Regions from separate parts of the Homo sapiens genome. Here regions 1, 3, 4, 5 and 6 are each linked to region 2. Evidence: promoter capture Hi-C in 16 types of primary human blood cells and fetal thymus (Javierre and others, 2016). All regions are on one chromosome and are shown on one strand. The core of a region is centred on a gene start or on the middle of the fragment in contact, and the rest is flanking DNA. Distances in the headings are between cores, read along the strand shown.

Evidence for each region. The method cuts DNA at HindIII sites, captures the fragments that hold promoters and counts their contacts. A CHiCAGO score of 5 or more calls a contact.
Region 1: a fragment that was not itself captured here is called in contact with the fragment with the promoter of PPA2 in region 2 in 2 of 17 cell types (neutrophils and megakaryocytes); the score reaches 5.2 in neutrophils.
Region 3: a contact is called between a fragment that was not itself captured here and the fragment with the promoter of PPA2 in region 2, in 4 of 17 cell types (fetal thymus, M0 macrophages, M2 macrophages and 1 more). The highest score is 10.2, in fetal thymus.
Region 4: the fragment with the promoter of CXXC4-AS1 here is called in contact with the fragment with the promoter of PPA2 in region 2 in 4 of 17 cell types (naive CD8 T cells, megakaryocytes, total CD8 T cells and 1 more); the score reaches 11.1 in naive CD8 T cells.
Region 5: a fragment that was not itself captured here is called in contact with the fragment with the promoter of PPA2 in region 2 in 7 of 17 cell types (fetal thymus, M2 macrophages, M1 macrophages and 4 more); the score reaches 13.2 in fetal thymus.
Region 6: a fragment that was not itself captured here is called in contact with the fragment with the promoter of PPA2 in region 2 in 1 of 17 cell types (naive CD8 T cells); the score reaches 5.1 in naive CD8 T cells.

Annotation. Positions count from the first base shown.
Region 1 is chr4:104,910,992-104,913,756 of GRCh38, forward strand. No RefSeq gene overlaps it. Among named protein-coding and RNA genes, the nearest start is that of TET2, 230 kb to the right of the region's middle. The HindIII fragment of the contact is 7,130 bases long and covers 1-2,765 here.
Region 2 is chr4:105,472,612-105,475,311 of GRCh38, forward strand. PPA2 (inorganic pyrophosphatase 2) reads right to left here and starts at 1,451. Exons shown (of 12, transcript NM_176869.3): 1 at 1,283-1,451. The coding sequence starts at 1,439. RefSeq lists enhancers at 632-801, 1,092-1,211 and a silencer at 1,432-1,641. The HindIII fragment of the contact is 2,034 bases long and covers 736-2,700 here.
Region 3 is chr4:104,859,080-104,861,779 of GRCh38, forward strand. No RefSeq gene overlaps it. Among named protein-coding and RNA genes, the nearest start is that of TET2, 290 kb to the right of the region's middle. The HindIII fragment of the contact is 933 bases long and covers 923-1,855 here.
Region 4 is chr4:104,489,496-104,492,225 of GRCh38, forward strand. CXXC4-AS1 (CXXC4 antisense RNA 1) reads left to right here and starts at 1,470. Exons shown (of 10, transcript NR_125926.1): 1 at 1,470-1,565. It overlaps CXXC4 (CXXC finger protein 4), which reads right to left. Exons shown (of 3, transcript NM_025212.4): 2 at 1,249-2,564. The coding sequence starts at 2,307. The HindIII fragment of the contact is 2,978 bases long and covers 1,138-2,730 here.
Region 5 is chr4:104,927,731-104,930,430 of GRCh38, forward strand. No RefSeq gene overlaps it. Among named protein-coding and RNA genes, the nearest start is that of TET2, 220 kb to the right of the region's middle. The HindIII fragment of the contact is 4,532 bases long and covers 1-2,700 here.
Region 6 is chr4:104,951,885-104,954,584 of GRCh38, forward strand. No RefSeq gene overlaps it. Among named protein-coding and RNA genes, the nearest start is that of TET2, 190 kb to the right of the region's middle. The HindIII fragment of the contact is 4,868 bases long and covers 1-2,700 here.

The DNA of each region.
Region 1 (2,765 bases), core at 254-2,753, 560 kb before region 2:
CTCCAACATGTGCTGTCAATCTTGGTCAAGATGTAACACTTCTGTTTTTTCATCTATAAAATCAAAAGACACTTGTCACATAATGATCTGAATTTTGTATCAATGCTCCATTGAAATTATCTTCATGAAGATCACCCATACTCTTTTAATTCTAAAATTTCATAAATATTTAGCTCTGATTATATTTCACCTTTTTGACATATTTGATTGTTTATCATTTCACAGTTCTTAAAAGTGTTCTTTTAATTTAAAGTGTTTAAAGTGTTTTTAAAGTGCTCTTTAATTCTATTTTGGTTTCTGTGACCTATCCTTTTCTGCCTTTTTTTTTTCCTTTCTAGGGGTCCATTTTTCACTCTTTTGCAGACTGCTCTCTCTGCTGTTCATTAAGCGACCTCTGTGCTCTTCTCCCTCTGAACTGTCTTCCCAAAATATTTTATCCACTATTCCTCCTGCCTCATGGCTTCAACCATCACCTATAAGCTGATGATTGCCCTATATGTGCCTGCTTTCCACATCTCTGTCCCAAGCTCCTGCCTATTGGATAAATTCACTGGGTTGTTCTGAGTGCCATCCAAAACTCCACCCACTTTAACCCAAGATAGAAAGCTGGAACACATCCCAGACTCCTTACTCTACCTCATTCTGCTCTGCTATCCCACTAGTGATAGCTTATTGGTTCTACCTCTAAAATATGTATTTCTTCTTATTTCTGCCACTGCCATAGTTCAGTTCCTCCGGGCAGATCAATGGAATAGCCTCCATATTATTCAGAGTCTTCTCAGTGTTGTGATAAAGAATGTTTGTGGCAAATGCTGGAACCAAAATCTCAGTGGTTTAGCACAATAAACATGTATTTCTTGTTCATGTCACAATCCAGCACAGGTTGGTGGACAGGATCTGCTTCATTCAGGTGACCAGGCTTCTTCCTTCTAGTAGTTATACCACCCCCTAGTAGCTTAAAATTTCCCCCAAACCCTTGTATCTGGCAGGCAGGTGAGGGAAGGGAGAGTGGAGTTTGGTTATGGGCTTGCTGTATATACAGTGGTGGAGCAGGGACAGCGTAACTACAATTAAAATTCCCATTCAAAAAAGGGAATCAGAGGATGTACATGTTCACTAGGCCACTACAATTCTACAATCCTGTTTGGCAGGCCTCGAGATGTCCCCTAGCCTGGGGAGAGGATAAATTTGTGGATTAGATTTTAATTCTGCTCTCTGGAAATAAGTCTTTTGTCTTTTTCTTGTTTGACCCTCAGCCTTTCCCTTTAGAAGTTCTTATTGTTTATTTATTCCTTTTGGACACAGCTGAAATGAGTGTAGCCAAAGTAAAAAGGTGATTTTAAAGGTCAGACAAAGCTGTTTTAATCAGATATTTTGGATTTCTTGACAATACAAGTTCTTCAAAATCTTGGTAGGCTTCTGTTGTATTTGCTTCTATGTACAATTCTCAGGTCTTTTCTCCTTTTTTTTTTTTCTCTCTCTCTCTCTCCAGCTCTCTTTGGCCATTAATCTGATCTGTATCTAAGTCATAGTGTTCAGCTAAAAAGTCTTTCTGGGCCTTGTGGTTCTGTGTGGGATCTAGAAGCAGATGGATTTCCACCATCGTTCACTCAAGTCTGGATACTTTCTATTGTTTTCCATCTGGCTTGGAAACTAGCCATTTCTGTCTGAGTTCATCTCTTTCTTGAAACACCTTACCAAAGGAAGCCAATAAGAGCTATGACACAGTAACACTGTGGTTCTTTTAAAACCAGTCCCCACAAGCAGCAGTTTTCAAAGCATAATCTGCACAATTCTGGAAATCCCAAAGACTCTTTTAGTGGATCCATGAGGTCAAAATTATTTTCATAATAATATTAAGATGTATTTGCTTTTTCTACTGTATTGACATTTGCACCAATGGTGCCAAAGCAATGGTGAGTAAAACTGTTGGTGCTTGTATTCATCTGTTATCATGTTGTTAATAAAGACATACCTGAGACCGGGTAATTTATAAAGAAATGAGGTTTAATAGACTCACAGTTCCACATGACTGGGGAGGCCTCACAAATCACGGTAGACGGCAAGGAGGAGCAAGTCATGTCTTACATGGATGGCAACAGTCAAGAAAAAGAGAGCTTCTGCAGGGGACCTCCTCTTTATAAAACCATCAGATCTCATAAGACTTATTCACTGTCATGAGAAAGACTCACCCCCATCATTCAATTACCTCTCACTAGGTCCCTCCCATGACATGTGGGCATTGTGGGAGCTACAATTCAAGATGAGATTTGGGTTGTGACACAGCAAAACCATATCAGTTCTTTAGCATAAATCAAGGCAAAATTACCAAATTGTATCATATCATTTTATTATGTCATTGCATCACTTTCATCACCATGATCTCACAGGTTTAAAAAGTTTTGCTTAAGAATACCCTAATGAAACAGTTAAAATTTATGCATTTTCTTAAAGCTCAACACTTGAGTTACAAATCTTTTAAGTATTCTGTGGGACTACAAGGAAAGAACACATAAAGCACTTCTGCTGCATACCCAAGTACAATGGTTGTCTTGAGGAAAAGCAATGTGTGATTGTTTGAGTTGCAAACTGAACTTGTCTCTTTTTCGTGGAATACCACTTTTGCTTGAAAGAACAAGTGATAAACAAAATATGGTTATTCATACTTGGATATTTGGCAGTCATTTTCTTGAAAATAAGTGAAGTGAGCCTGTCACTTGAAGGCAAACAACCTGACGGTATTTGGTGCCAATGATAAAATCTGA
Region 2 (2,700 bases), core at 201-2,700:
TTCACCTGATCAGTCTTAACCAAAGATAGAAGAAAATATGTGGCATAGGGTGAAAACTGCAACCAATTTTGAAGAAAATAGAAATTCTAGTACTAGTTGCATTATAATCACACGACTTTAGGCAAACTCTTCTTTCCCACAAAATAATCCTCGACCCTAAACTCATGTAGCATAACTGCAAATCTCTCATAAATTACAAATATCTATAATGATTATCGGTATTAACAATAGTAATTTATATTTTAGGCCCTGTGACTAATCAGTTTACATATATAATGTCATGTAATACTTGCAGCCCTATTTTACGGATGAGAAAAAACAAGGCTTAGCAACTTAAACTCGTCCGGGGTCACAGAGTTAAGACGTGAAGAACTCGAGGGCCTGCTTAGAACTGAAAGCCTCCAGAGCCAGTGCTCCGAAAAGGGGAGCGATAATGCAAGGCCCACTTTGATACTACCACTCCAAGGCTCTGCAGTCAGTGGGGAGTGAAGGCAAGCGACCGACATCGCTATTTTCTGTTACGGTTAACGTACACAGTGAAACAATGGGGTACACGGAACAATGAGTCACGAAGACCTGGGTCCTTTCTCTGAGCTCGGCAACTCAGGGACCCCCCCGAAGTCGCTTAGCCTTCTGGGCTTGTTCAGCTTGGGGAGGAAAAGGGGCTGCTCCGGAACCAACGAGGCTTTGGATGGTGGATCACACTCAGGGTGTAAACTTGTGCGTACCAAGTCAAGCTTCTGGGGAAAGAACCTTCATCAGAGTCCCTCCAAAAAAAGAAGACGCGCTGGATTAGGCATCCGCAAAGTTCCGCCTGCCTCTCCGACGTCAGGGAGCTCCCGCAGTAGGAGGTTTCTTACGCCTCTAGGAAGGCCGGCGTGTGGGCGGGCTCTGCCTTCCCTTCCTCACTGAGTTGTGTGAACCGGGAACGGCGGCCGGGCCGGCTAATGGCTGCAGGCCGCCGCGGGGTGGCCGCTTGCACTCTGCCTACCCCTCGGGGAGGGCGGCTGGCAGGGCACAGGGCGCTATCTACCCCCCAGCCGGCAGCCCTGCGCCTCTGCTCTCCGCTTTGGGGTCTTGATCCGCCGCCTCCTCGCTGGCAGTTCTCGTGACTCGGTGCGCGCTCCCGCGGGAAGTAAGGTGGCCTGGACCGCGCGGCTACCGCTGAGGGCCCCAAAAAGAGAGAAGGGAGACCGCGCGGGGCGTCCCAAGTGTCCCCCATTCCATCCCCCACCCAGGTTTCTCCGGTGCGCCGCTCGGCGAACCTCCGGGAGCTACTTACTAAAGAAGAGGCGGTAATTCTGCGAGCAGGGCTGGCCGCGCTCCTCAGTGTGGTACAGGGCCATAGCACGGCGCGACCCGGTCCCTGCACTGGTCCCCAACCGCAGGCACGCAGCGGCTGGGGCACCCGTGCGCAGCAGCCGCAGCAGCGCGCTCATGGCGTCAATGACGGTCCTGCTGTGCGCGCGGAGCTACCTGGGGGCTCGGCCGGGCCGCACGCCGGTGCCCCCTACCGTCCGGAGTCATCCCTCCCGCCCCGGCGCTCGGGCTGCGATCCTGGTCCCTGCCAGTGGAATCTGGAACACCAGCCAGTTGTGCGCACTATGCCCTCAGCGAGGCCGCAGCTCAAAGACGAGTGAGACAAGACCCACCACCCCTGAAGAGCTCACTGCCACTCGTTAATTCATACATTTATTCATGCCTTCATTTATCCCGTCAAGAATTACTATCATGATTTTTTAGTATAGTGATGTAATATTGAGTGATTACTCTGTGCCAGGAACTGCTCTAGACCCTGTCCAATATAGGAGATGAGCGCACATGCACGCAAAGACATCACTATAAGACAAAATGATCAGGCCACCACGTGAAAACGGGACGTTGACACCGACTTACAGAGCAAAAAACCCTAAGTAGCTTACTCAAATGCCATCTTCTCCATAAGGCCATTTCCTAACCCAGTAGAGATTATTTATTCTTTCTTTTATTTTATTATTTTTTGTTGTTGTTTTGTTTTTGAGACGGAGTCTCACACTGTTGCCTGGGCTGGAATGCAATGGTACAATCTCGGCTCACTGCAACCTCCGCCTCCTGGGTTCAAGCTATTCTCCTGCCTTAGCCTCCTGAGTAACTGGGATTACAGGCATGCGTCACGACGCCTAGCTAATTTTTGTATTTTTAGTAGAGACAGTTTCCCCATGTTGGTCAGACTGGTCTCGAACTCCCGACCTCCATTGATCCGCCTGCGTTGGCCTCCCAAAGTCCTGGGATTACAGGCGTGAGCCACCGCGCATCGGCCAGGCGGGGTGGCACACACGCCTGTAGTTCCAGCTACTTGGGAGGCTGAGATAGGAGGATGGTTTGGGCCAGTATCCAGGAGAATGGATATTGTAGAACAACCAGTAGTCTGCCACGTGTCATTTTATTTTTTTCTAGTCCATCTTCTTTGGGACTATCATCATCTAGGCTACTTTCCTACTGGGCACCCAGGTTCTTTCAGCATCTCCAATTATCGTGTGATCATTAAAATTGAGATACTGGTCTACCCAAGTTCCAGAAAGGATTCCTAGGAGATATTGTGACTAGCTACTTAGAGACACTCTACTAAGATTATAGATCCTAAAATGTTTTTGTCAACAGTGGTACCTTTGTAATGTGTCAACTTGAATAGGCATAACTATAAGGCAAATGCTCCCATAA
Region 3 (2,700 bases), core at 139-2,638, 610 kb before region 2:
CTTGACTATCCGTCAGAGACATAGAGTATCACCTGTCAGATGGCTGTCAGACCCAAGCTGAAATAGCTGCTGTCCTCTCCATCAACTTACATTTATGCCTCATACCTTACTCTAAATTTGAGGAAGGTATGTAAGTTTTGTTTTTAAAGTAAACATAGAATTAAAGTAAAGGAGATAAGGAGTAGTCCCATCAAAGAATTTCATCACTTGCTTTGCTTAAATATGAATTTTAAAGCAAGATTTGCAAATAACAGAGATAAATGAATTTGTTTTTATTATTGATTCATTAAAGGGTACTGGTAATCTCTGAAAGCAAAAGAAATCTCCACAATTTTAAAGAGAACATTTAAAATGTACCTACATGTAGGAATGAATATATTCCTTTCTATCTGACTGAAATCTGTGATAGAATATTTATTTTTAGGAGCCTCTCAAGCTCTATATAAGTGGAAAATTATCTCAATCCCTGTGAACCTAGTTCAAGATAAATAACTGCTGCTTTTGCCGTGCTAACTCTGTCCTTACTTTTTACCTATGTTTTACCTTGCAAATGACACCCCCACCCCCGACTACCTACAGAGATATATGAGGGCACCGCTTTAAAACCCCACTTTGGCTAAGCTGAGTGGAGCTGGAGCTATATTACAACTGCGGTCCCTCCCTTCTCTCTCTAGTGCAGGCAGCAGCACTCAAGCAGTTAACCACCTTCTAAGTGTCCTGGTAATACATTCCTGCCGCAACACTCCTCAGCTCTCCAGAATCGGATTTCTGAAAATGTCTCTACACAGAGACATTCGCTTCCCCGCTCAGCAGAAAGGGCTGTAGTCAGGGCCAAGGAGAGTAAAATATGAGCTTACGAATGTGGGGCAGGACATACATTGTTTTTTTTTTTGTTTTTTTTTTTTTTGACTCAGAGAACTCAAGCTTCTGCACGACAGTGTGAGTCTCCAGCAAACGCCAGTCTTTAAAATGCACATAAAGGATGACAATTTGTTCCCTGAATATCACTGGCTGGCAGAGCCCCTGAACAAATTATTAGAAAGTGTGTGGGTGGAGGAGGATTTAGTCCCAATTATTAACCTACTGGAAGCTATATATATGCAACTATAATCATATATACTCATTATCATATCTCCAGTTGCCTCCAAATGCTGGCATTTAATGAGTTAAAGTCCAATGACTATGGCAATTAAGGTTATAAGTAAAATACTCCTCAGATATTTGACTGAAAGTATATGCTTGCTCTTCGTACTTTGTAGGAAGAGCACAGAGAGGCAGGAAAGGAAAGGAATGGGTTTTGGAGAGCACATCAAGCCAAAATAACACACTTGTTCTGACCATCCTAGGTACTGTGACAATAATTAGGAGGAAGAATACCCTTCTGTGGGTTGGAAAAGCCAGGAAGAAGAGACTTAAGTTAAGCTAGCATACATCAAAAATAATTGACAATGGTTAGGCTTCATTGTAGAGAAGCCTGCACTGGCATTGCAGCCACCAGCCCACCACCCACCTAAGAATTATTATTTGAAAAGGATGTCAGAGGATTATAGAAGATCCTTGTGTCTGCTCCAATTAGGATCAACACTTCTGCTGCTTGCTCACTGAGCATTCAGTAATGATGAAAGCATATTGACCCCTGCTGGAAATGTGTAGAACTGCAGCCTTTTTCTCTGGCCAAATAGGATTTAAAAGGAAGGCATCTTCTAAACTACCATTTACACGTATCAAGCCTAAGGGGTATGTGTTTGTTTGTTTGCTTATTTGTTTTAAAGAAGGCTTTATATCACAATGCCAATATGAAACTAGTTTACTCATTGCAAACATTATTTCAAAACATTTCACGAACCCAAGACAAAGCTTCTTCTAATGATATAGCTTTATATTTTTTTGTACAGAGCTTAATCACTATCTTGTTTAAAATTGTAAGCAACAGCCAGTGAGCATCAAACTTGGGTCCTCTCGATTATTTCTTAGAAGTCTCTGACTTACTGACCTCAAAATATATTATTTTCAAAGAAACTTAAGATCAGGAAAATGTTCTAACACTCTAGGTAATTATTTTGTTTCCACTCTAAATACTATCCCAAGGGTTAAATCTCTGTGACAGTTTTCTCCTAAGATATTTTCCACACAACTAAGGGCTCTAAACTTGTATTGCTATGCTAGAATATTAATCAGACACTCTACCTTCTAAGAATTCTTACAGAAAAGTTCAGGGAAAAAAATATTTTCCAGTATATTTGGGGGTCACCAAGTTTCCACCTAAGTGCTTAGAGGACATGGAACAGTTAACTCATACAGTACATGACTTGTTATTTTGTGGAATGTACTAAAATGATGTAGATATTATAATTCTTGCTCTGTGTTAGGGGTTTTAGAGAGGAAGTATTTCTCGATATAAGTTAACAGAATAATTATCAACGTCAGCAGTCAATATAAGCTCTCCAGCAGCAGCTAGACTATGGTCTCTTGGCGTGTTCTATTAGCTGGCCCACTCATGAGGTTCAAAGCTTTGCCAAGACTAGGAGGCCATTCTGTGTACAGATCAGTAGCCTGGCTCCATATAATGGTTGCCACAGCACCCCTCAACTCAACCCATTGTTCTGAAAATGCTATCAGTTAAATGCTATCCATAAACACTATCAGTTAAATACAAAAAAAAAATTGCAAGCTCTATTCTTATTCCATGTAGAGAAATTT
Region 4 (2,730 bases), core at 220-2,719, 980 kb before region 2:
ATAACTTGTGAGAGCCACTCTCATCCTGCAACTCACTCCACAGAATATTAAAATGTTAAAGCACAGAATGCTAAACCCACCACCTACAGTCTCATGTATATATGAACATCTAATTATCTACCCTGTAAATTTTATCGAGACTAACTATAAGTACTTGTCCAGATTTCTTTGTTTAATATACCACCAAAGTCATTTACCTGTGATTTTTCATTTTTCCCCATTTTTGTTTTGATCAGGACACAATACAAAATTTTTATCAAAGGTATCAATCTCTGTATTTAGCATAATTCATAACCTAATTTAACAATTACTTTAGTGAGCATCTGTACAATATCTGTTTTAAAGACCTATAGGTAAAAGAAACTATTATTGACCATATAAGGTATCAACCAAAACTGTGCTTGGTGTATACACCAACTTTGTAACCACAAAATGGTTACTTTGTCCAATGCAGAGCCCAGGGGAAATACTTTTTTTGTAACTGAGTTTTAGAAATTATTCATTCTAAAACCACATAAAATAATTTTTAAACAAAATCACTCTTATCTGCCCTGAAATTAACTAATTGTATCCCTTTATTCTAAGTCACATCTCCTCAAAATTTGCAGGTAGAAATCCGCTTCCTACACAGTTTCAGCTTTCTCCAAAAATATCAGATACGCAGAAAATAAAATAGAAAACATTCTGCCTTGATGAGTAGAAAAATGATTCTAGAAAAGGGTAGGAAATCCCCTTCTGAATCCAGGTGTTTCAACTTCATTGAATACTGCTGTGTGGTTTGTTACCGGTTTTTTAATGAGAACAGGCTTGTGTACCACAAACTGTGTCCTCACTGTTATAAATGGGCCACTAACTTAGCCAGTAAACTTGTATAGGATGTGATGTGTCCAGTCCTTTGGGCAAGATGCCCCACCCTTTTTAATGAGGAGGAGGGGGCATTTTAAACCACCAAGGGAAAATATTGAGCATATTGAATGTGAAACTTCTGATTCTTCAATTACATTATTTTTCCCCCAGGGATAAAAAGGAGGGCACTCTCTCTATCAGAAGGGCGGTGTCACGTGAAGTGCAGCTGGTGCGGGTGGTGGAGAGGCCAAGCCTTTCGCAAACCACCTACAACTCTTACCACCTGAATGAAGCTTCTGAGAAGGGGTACTGCATCTTGAAGCCAGACAAGAATCCCTGAAGGGGAGAGGGAGTGAGGAGGGAAGGGGGGAGACTGGGAAACAAGAAATCATCTCCTCTGACCTCTAGTGAAGTGCCAGGTTTTTTCTTTAGCTCTTCACATTTTCTAAATTTGCAGATCTGGTGTCCCGTTTTGCGGTTCCTGCAACTGCTGCAGACGCCACAGTTGATGAGCCTCTTGCAGGGCACGCAGACCCCACACCTTTTCCTCTTCTTCTTGGCTGGGTTGGCTCCGCCAGCTCCCCCTGAGGAGGACGAGGAGGAGGAGGAATGATTCTGCGGGCAGTCTGCCAGATTGGCAATTTGAAACGCACTGTCTGTGACGGCTGCTGAGGCTGCTGCGGGGGAGTGAAGGGCTGTCATGACGATGACCCCTGGAGGTAATGAGATGCCCCCTAAAGCCGGGATAGCGGAAAAAGTCCCCACGCGCTCGGGGAGATTCATTATCTCTGCTTCAGCAGCGCCGCATTTGAGCTTGTTCATGCATTCCCCCGCCAAAGGTCTGCAGTGTTCAGGGGATAAGGTGGAGAGGAAATTAGTATTTGCCATTTGCAACGACGGCTCTGGCGGGCAGCCAGCTTTCCCCAGCCTCTGGGAGTCGTTTCGGTGGTGCATGCTGGTCCTGCTGCCGCCGCCGCCGCCGCCGCCGCCACCGCCGGCGGGGAGGATCGCCGAGGAGGAGGAGGCGGAGGAGGAGGCGGCGGCGGAGGAGGATTTCCTGCCGCCCCCACCACCCCCGCCCCCGCCTCCGCCGCCGCCGCCGCCGCCGCCACCCCCCCCGCCGCCGCCCCCGCCCCCGCCGCTGCCCCAGAGCATGGCGGTGGCGGCGGCGGCGGTGGCCGCGTTGTCGCAGTTCCAGGGGGACATGCCGATGCGCGCGGCGGCCGCGGCGGCGGCGGCGCTGCTGGGGAAGATGGGGGTGGTGATGCGCGCGATCTTGGCCGCCTGTGGGAAGGCGCCCCCGTTGGTCTTGTAGAAGGAGGTGGCAAAGGAGCGGTAGCGCTCCATTTCCGAGTTGTAATCCACAAGGCTGTTCAGAGCCCCCTCGGGCAAGTGGCTTTCCTTGGGCAAGCCCGGGGCCTCCGGGCTCGGCCCGGGCTCCACGCAGACATTGGTGTTCATGGTGCAGGGGGGGAAGAAGGGGTGCAGGGTGGAAGTGGGGACCGCCTGGTCCGACACCTGGGTGGAAAAGGGGGAAAGGTGGGGGGGAGGGAAGGGAGTGATGGTGGTGTTGGGGTGGGGGCCGAGGCGGGTGGGGAAAGTGGGTTCGGGTGGGGAGAGCAAGGTGAGGGCTGCTTTATTCCTCTCTGGGGCTCATTTCCACAGACGGTGAATTCCCAGGCAGCGTCTTCCTTTGCATTATCCTCCAACTGTTACAACTAAAATAAAGAAAGTCATTCCAACGAGCTGCACGAGGAAAAAGATTAAAAATAAACAACCTCCCTCACTAACCCACCGCAGACACCGAAAGCTCCCACATTCTTCCATCAGGTCGTTTGCATAAGAATCATCAAGACGTGACCCCCCCCAGCCCATCCCCCCCAA
Region 5 (2,700 bases), core at 102-2,601, 540 kb before region 2:
ATGTATATATATATATATATATCCTTTTTCTACACTATTATATATAATAGTAGAGAAAAGCCTCAACACAAGAAATAAGGTTATTACACACAAAACTTAGATATCCCGGCCAGGCATGGTAGCTCATGCCTGTAATCCCAGTACTTTAGGAGACCAAGGCTGGATGATCACTTGAAGCCAGGACTTCAAGACCATCCTGGGTAACATAGTAAGATCTTATCTCTACAAAAAATACAAAAATTAGCTGGGCATGGTGGCACGCACCTGTAGTCCTAGTTACTCAGGAAGCTGAGGCAGGAAAACCACTTGAGCATAGGAGTTTGAAGCTGCAGCAAGCTATGTTCATGCCACTGTACTCCTGCTTAGGTGACAGAGTTAGACTCTGTGGAGAGAAAGGAAAGGAAAGAGGAAAGAGAAAAAGAAAGAGAAAGGAAAGGAAGAGAGAGAGAGAAAGAGAGAAAGAAAAGAAAAAAATAAAGTTAGATATGCAGAGATTTTGAGATGACCTACAGAATTCATATGGATCCACAATCCTTATAGCTAGATCCTTATATGATTGCTCCAAAAATGTACATTCTGGACCTAGCACATTAGCTAGCCCCCCAACAATTCTTAATTTCTAGTAGATATGGCAGAATAATGTTACATGAAATGGTGGTATCAAGTTGTTATATGAGAATGACAACATAGGAATCCTAATAAAATGCTTGTAGATGGTCTTTGAGGTCAGTTAAAAATCACCAAATATTTTTGACGGCAATATCTCTAGTACTTGTACCTCTGTTTATCTGTCATTATCTCAAGTCTTAGTTCCTATTGATTAAATCTATTTAGCAACAGTTATAAAATTTTTCTTCTAGATGTGAAATGGCCATAGGGACTCTACTTCCTGGTTAACATGTCTTAATGAATCACCACATTTTCATGTTTTCCCACAGGAAAGGAACATGGTAAAATAGAAATAGGTTAAGATGTAATGATCTCCCCCTTTCCTGAATATGCCTCTGAATCGCTCTGTGTATACCTCTGCATTCTTTCATTTGCATATAAGGAAACCACTATGGCTTATAGCTTTTACAAACTGATGCCAATAATGGTCACATATCTTACAAAGATCTAGAATTTATTACAAAGTAATTAAAATCAATAACAACAACAAGAAAACAAACTTCCAAAAGGTCAAAACTTTAACCAATCTACATAATCACTAAAATTTAGCACCAAGTATTAAAAGCAAAGACATAAAAGCAATCCTGTGATGAATTTCCATACACATAAATATTCACTAAGTAGGAAAATACCTGATTAAAGAGTTAAAGAAATTTTATTTGTAACACTTTCCTTAAAGGGATTTTTCTTTTCCAAAATAGTATAAATCATTGTATTTTAGACCTCCTACTATCTACTTTATTGGTCTAAAGATTATTGGTACTTTAATGATAAGTTAAATACATTTTAACAGAAAGATAATTAAATGAACACTTGAAGTATTAACATAATTACATATAGTCAGGCAAATTCTGTGTATGAGATGAAATGTCATTCCAAAAGTATCTCATTGCTGTTTTTGTGTCACATTTAGACATGAGACACTGAGTATATACTTGTCGGCTAAGTGTTCACAAATCCTACTAAGGGCATGTATTGGGGGACTTGGCATTGCCAGGTTGTAGAGAGTACTTGCATCTCCTTGCATCAAATTTGGATGAAATTCTAAAACCATATAGGCTGCTCCAGAATACATCCGGCTTCTGGTGGATAAATAGGTCCACCATTTCTGGTTATTTTTCTAAGTAAGTTGTAAAAACCCTCCCTATGTAAGGCCTATTTGACAAGTATTTTTTCTAGTACATAAAACTAGAATATGATAAAAAATTTTTATAAACATAACTCAACCTAAAACTCTTGAAATATCTTATGGTTTATGACAACACACACATTCAATTACTGGAGACACATACTAAATACTACATATTTGTTGATAAAGCTGAAACTCCTAAACCTACCAAAAAGGCCTTCAAGACTGCCACCAATTCCATTTTCTTCCTCCACAGTGGAAGACTAAAAACTGCCAATCAATGACTAATCTCCCCTGTTTCTGCTATCAGAACTTGTCTGTATACAAGAGCAATGTGCTCATCTCTAGGAGGTGATGAACAACCATTCTAAGGTGATAATCACAATGTTCTTTCCCTTTGCCATATAGTCATTTTTTCACTCTCCTTTGCAACTAGGAGGGATATTTTCTAATAAAAGAGACCAATGGAGCTGGACTCTCCCCTTCCCTCTTTCTTCTTCTTCCTGCATGGATATGATGCCTGGTGTTGTGGTAGCCATATTAAAAACCGTGGGGCCTTCAGCCAAAGGGGAAAAAGCCAGCAAATGAAGGAAGGAGAATGCAAGGTAGAAAGAGCCTATATCCTTGACAGCATCATGAACAATGGGAGCAATGCCAGCAATTTTCTATATTCTTACTTCTTGCTCTGTAGGAAAAAATAATTCCTTATTTACTAAAGCCACTGTTGGATTGTGGCTGGCAAGATGTCTGAATAGGAACAGCTCCGGTCTGTAGCTCCCAGCGAGATCAACGCAGAAGGTGGGTGATTTCTGCATTTCCAACTGAGGTGCACAGCTCATCTCACTGGAACTGGTTAGACAGCGGGTGCAGCCCATGGAGAGTGAGCTGAAGCAGGGTGGGAT
Region 6 (2,700 bases), core at 60-2,559, 520 kb before region 2:
GCATGATCTCAGCTCACTGCAACCTTCACCTCCCGGGTTCAAGTGATTCTCCTGCCTCAGCCTCTCTAGTAGCTGGTACTACAGGTGCATGCCACCATGCCCAGCTAATTTTTGTATTTTTAGTAGAGACAGGGTTTCACCATGTTGGCCAGGCTTGTCTCGAACTCCTGACTTTGTGATCCACCTGTCTCAGCCTCCCAAAGTGTTGGGATTACAAGGGTGAGCCACGGCACCCAGCTCAGAAACCATTTTTTTTTTAACTATTATTGTTTTAAAACACGCTCTATATCCTTACTTTCATAGAATCTAAGGTCTATTTATCCAAACCTCTAAATCTAATATTTTCTATAACATTATTTGCAATTAGTCTGGCGTCTATTTAAACACTTTTAGAGAAAAAGTTGTCTGCGATGATCCTATCCAGTCATCTTATGACAATTACAATTAATAAGTCCTTCTTCGGAAAACTTATATGTGGGCATCTTATGGATGGGGTGAAAATGAGTATAGAATTCTGCTTCCTAGAAGTATATTTTCCTCTATATCATTATATGCAAGCAAAAATACACTCACCATTTTTCTTCCCTTTGGAATTACGCAAGAAGAACTATAAGCCCCAAAATTTAGTTAACTGAAGATAAGTAACATGTTCTCAACTCAATATACCTCAGACTAAATATGGCCAGTTCTTCTTACTGCCCTTCACACTAACTTCTACTCATTTGTTGTCTCAGTCTGTTTGTGTTTCTTTAACAAAATACGTGAGACTGGGCAGTATTTTCTACAGTTCTAGAAGTTGGGAAGTCCAAAATTATGGTGTTGGCATTTGGTGTCTGGTGAGGTCCTTCTTGCCATGTCCTCACCTAAGGCAGAAGAGCAAAAAGTGAGGGTGACAGTTCCCTGGTACCTCTTTTATAAAGGCACTCATCCCATCCCTAAGGGCTCCACCATGGCAAGTTAAGTTTCAACATACAAATCTTGGGAGATACGTTCAGACCATAGCATCTGCCTGATCACCTTTCCCTTTCCCATCAATATTCACTTCCACCTCTTCAGAAAATCCCTCTTACTTACTAATGACACTAGGCAGGTTACTTAACCACTCCAATCATCAGTCTTTTCAGTTGCAAAATGGGGATAATGCTACTTAACTCAGAATTGAAGATTAAAACGCAGTGACCAGTCTATAGCACTCAATAAATGGTGGTTATTACATAAATCCAGCACATAAAATAGGCAATGTATTTTAAATCCAATCATATTTTTAAAAATGTATCTCATAGACAGGCCACTAGCTACCATTTTGGAGTGAAGATGATTATTAGAGGAAGAGCTAGAAAACTGAGAAAGAGTTCACTCATTGCTAATTTATCTTAAAGAGGAAATGAATATCTGTGAGTTTGAAACAATATCTCTAAATGAGAATAATTAGGAAAATATCAATTTTATCCATTTGTAAACCCTTTAAGGGGATGATTCTTGGAAGAAATCAGTATTATTGATACCATGGTCTGTTTCTACCCATATTTCTGACATCAAATGCATAGTTTTGTTTTGTTTTGTTTTTCCCATACCAACAACTAATTCTCTAACTCTCCAGACACCAACTGGGTATCCAATGATTCCATTTATTTTTAGCACTAACTAACCAGAGTTAATACAGACCCTACTCAGTCCCACAAGACTACCCTCACTTCAGATACCAATGCAAGTCCTGAGTCTCCTATAGTTCTGTTCAATGGACTATAAATCAAGAGTTTCCATGACCCCCTCCTCAGGCTCAATAATTTACTTGAACAGCTCTAAGCCAGAATCTCCTTAAATACCATTGTTTAGGAGTTTTATGGAGATTCCCCTATGAATACATGAGATTCCCCTATGAATACATGAGATTGACTGAGTTATTAACCATTTGTGATTAATTCAATCTCCAGCCTTTCTCCTCTCTCCAGGGGTCAGGGGCTGGGCTCAAAGTTCCAACCCTTTAATCATATGGTTGTTTCGTCTGGCAACCAGCTCCCATCCTGAAGCTATCTAGGGACCCACCACAGGTCGTCTTATTAGCATAAACTCAGGTATGTGACAGGAGCTTATTATGAATAAGAAACTACTCTTACTCCCATCACTAGGGAAATTCCAAGGCTTTTAGAAGTTCTATGCCAGAAACTAGGGATAAAACCCAAATATATATTTCTTAATATATCAAAATATCACAGTTGAATCAAGTTCCACATGCTATTCTAATCTTCTTTGACAAAGTGAAAAATCAGATAAAAGTAATGATGAACACACCTTTAATTCTGATCACAGAGCATACTTATCCACAAAAGGTAAAATCTACCTATCAAACAACAATTATAGGGATATAAACTTCACTAAAACTACATCCAGAGGGTGGTTGATACTTAACCAGGAGACACATAACCATGTTCCATAGATTCTAGTCATGTAGGAGTTAGAATTGGTTCTAGTGTAATTTTATGATTTTATCCATGTGTCTTGCATATGCATTTTTGGAATCATACCTGATTTCATATTCCCTTCTGCACACTAGCACCTTATATATTAGAATGAAGAATGTGGTAAAAAGCAAGGATGCATTTTATTTATACTAAGGGGTCTCAAGTTAAAAATATATGATACCTTTCCAAATTGGAAGGAAAAAAAACAGCAATGCTTGTTTTTTCCAATCATCAAAAC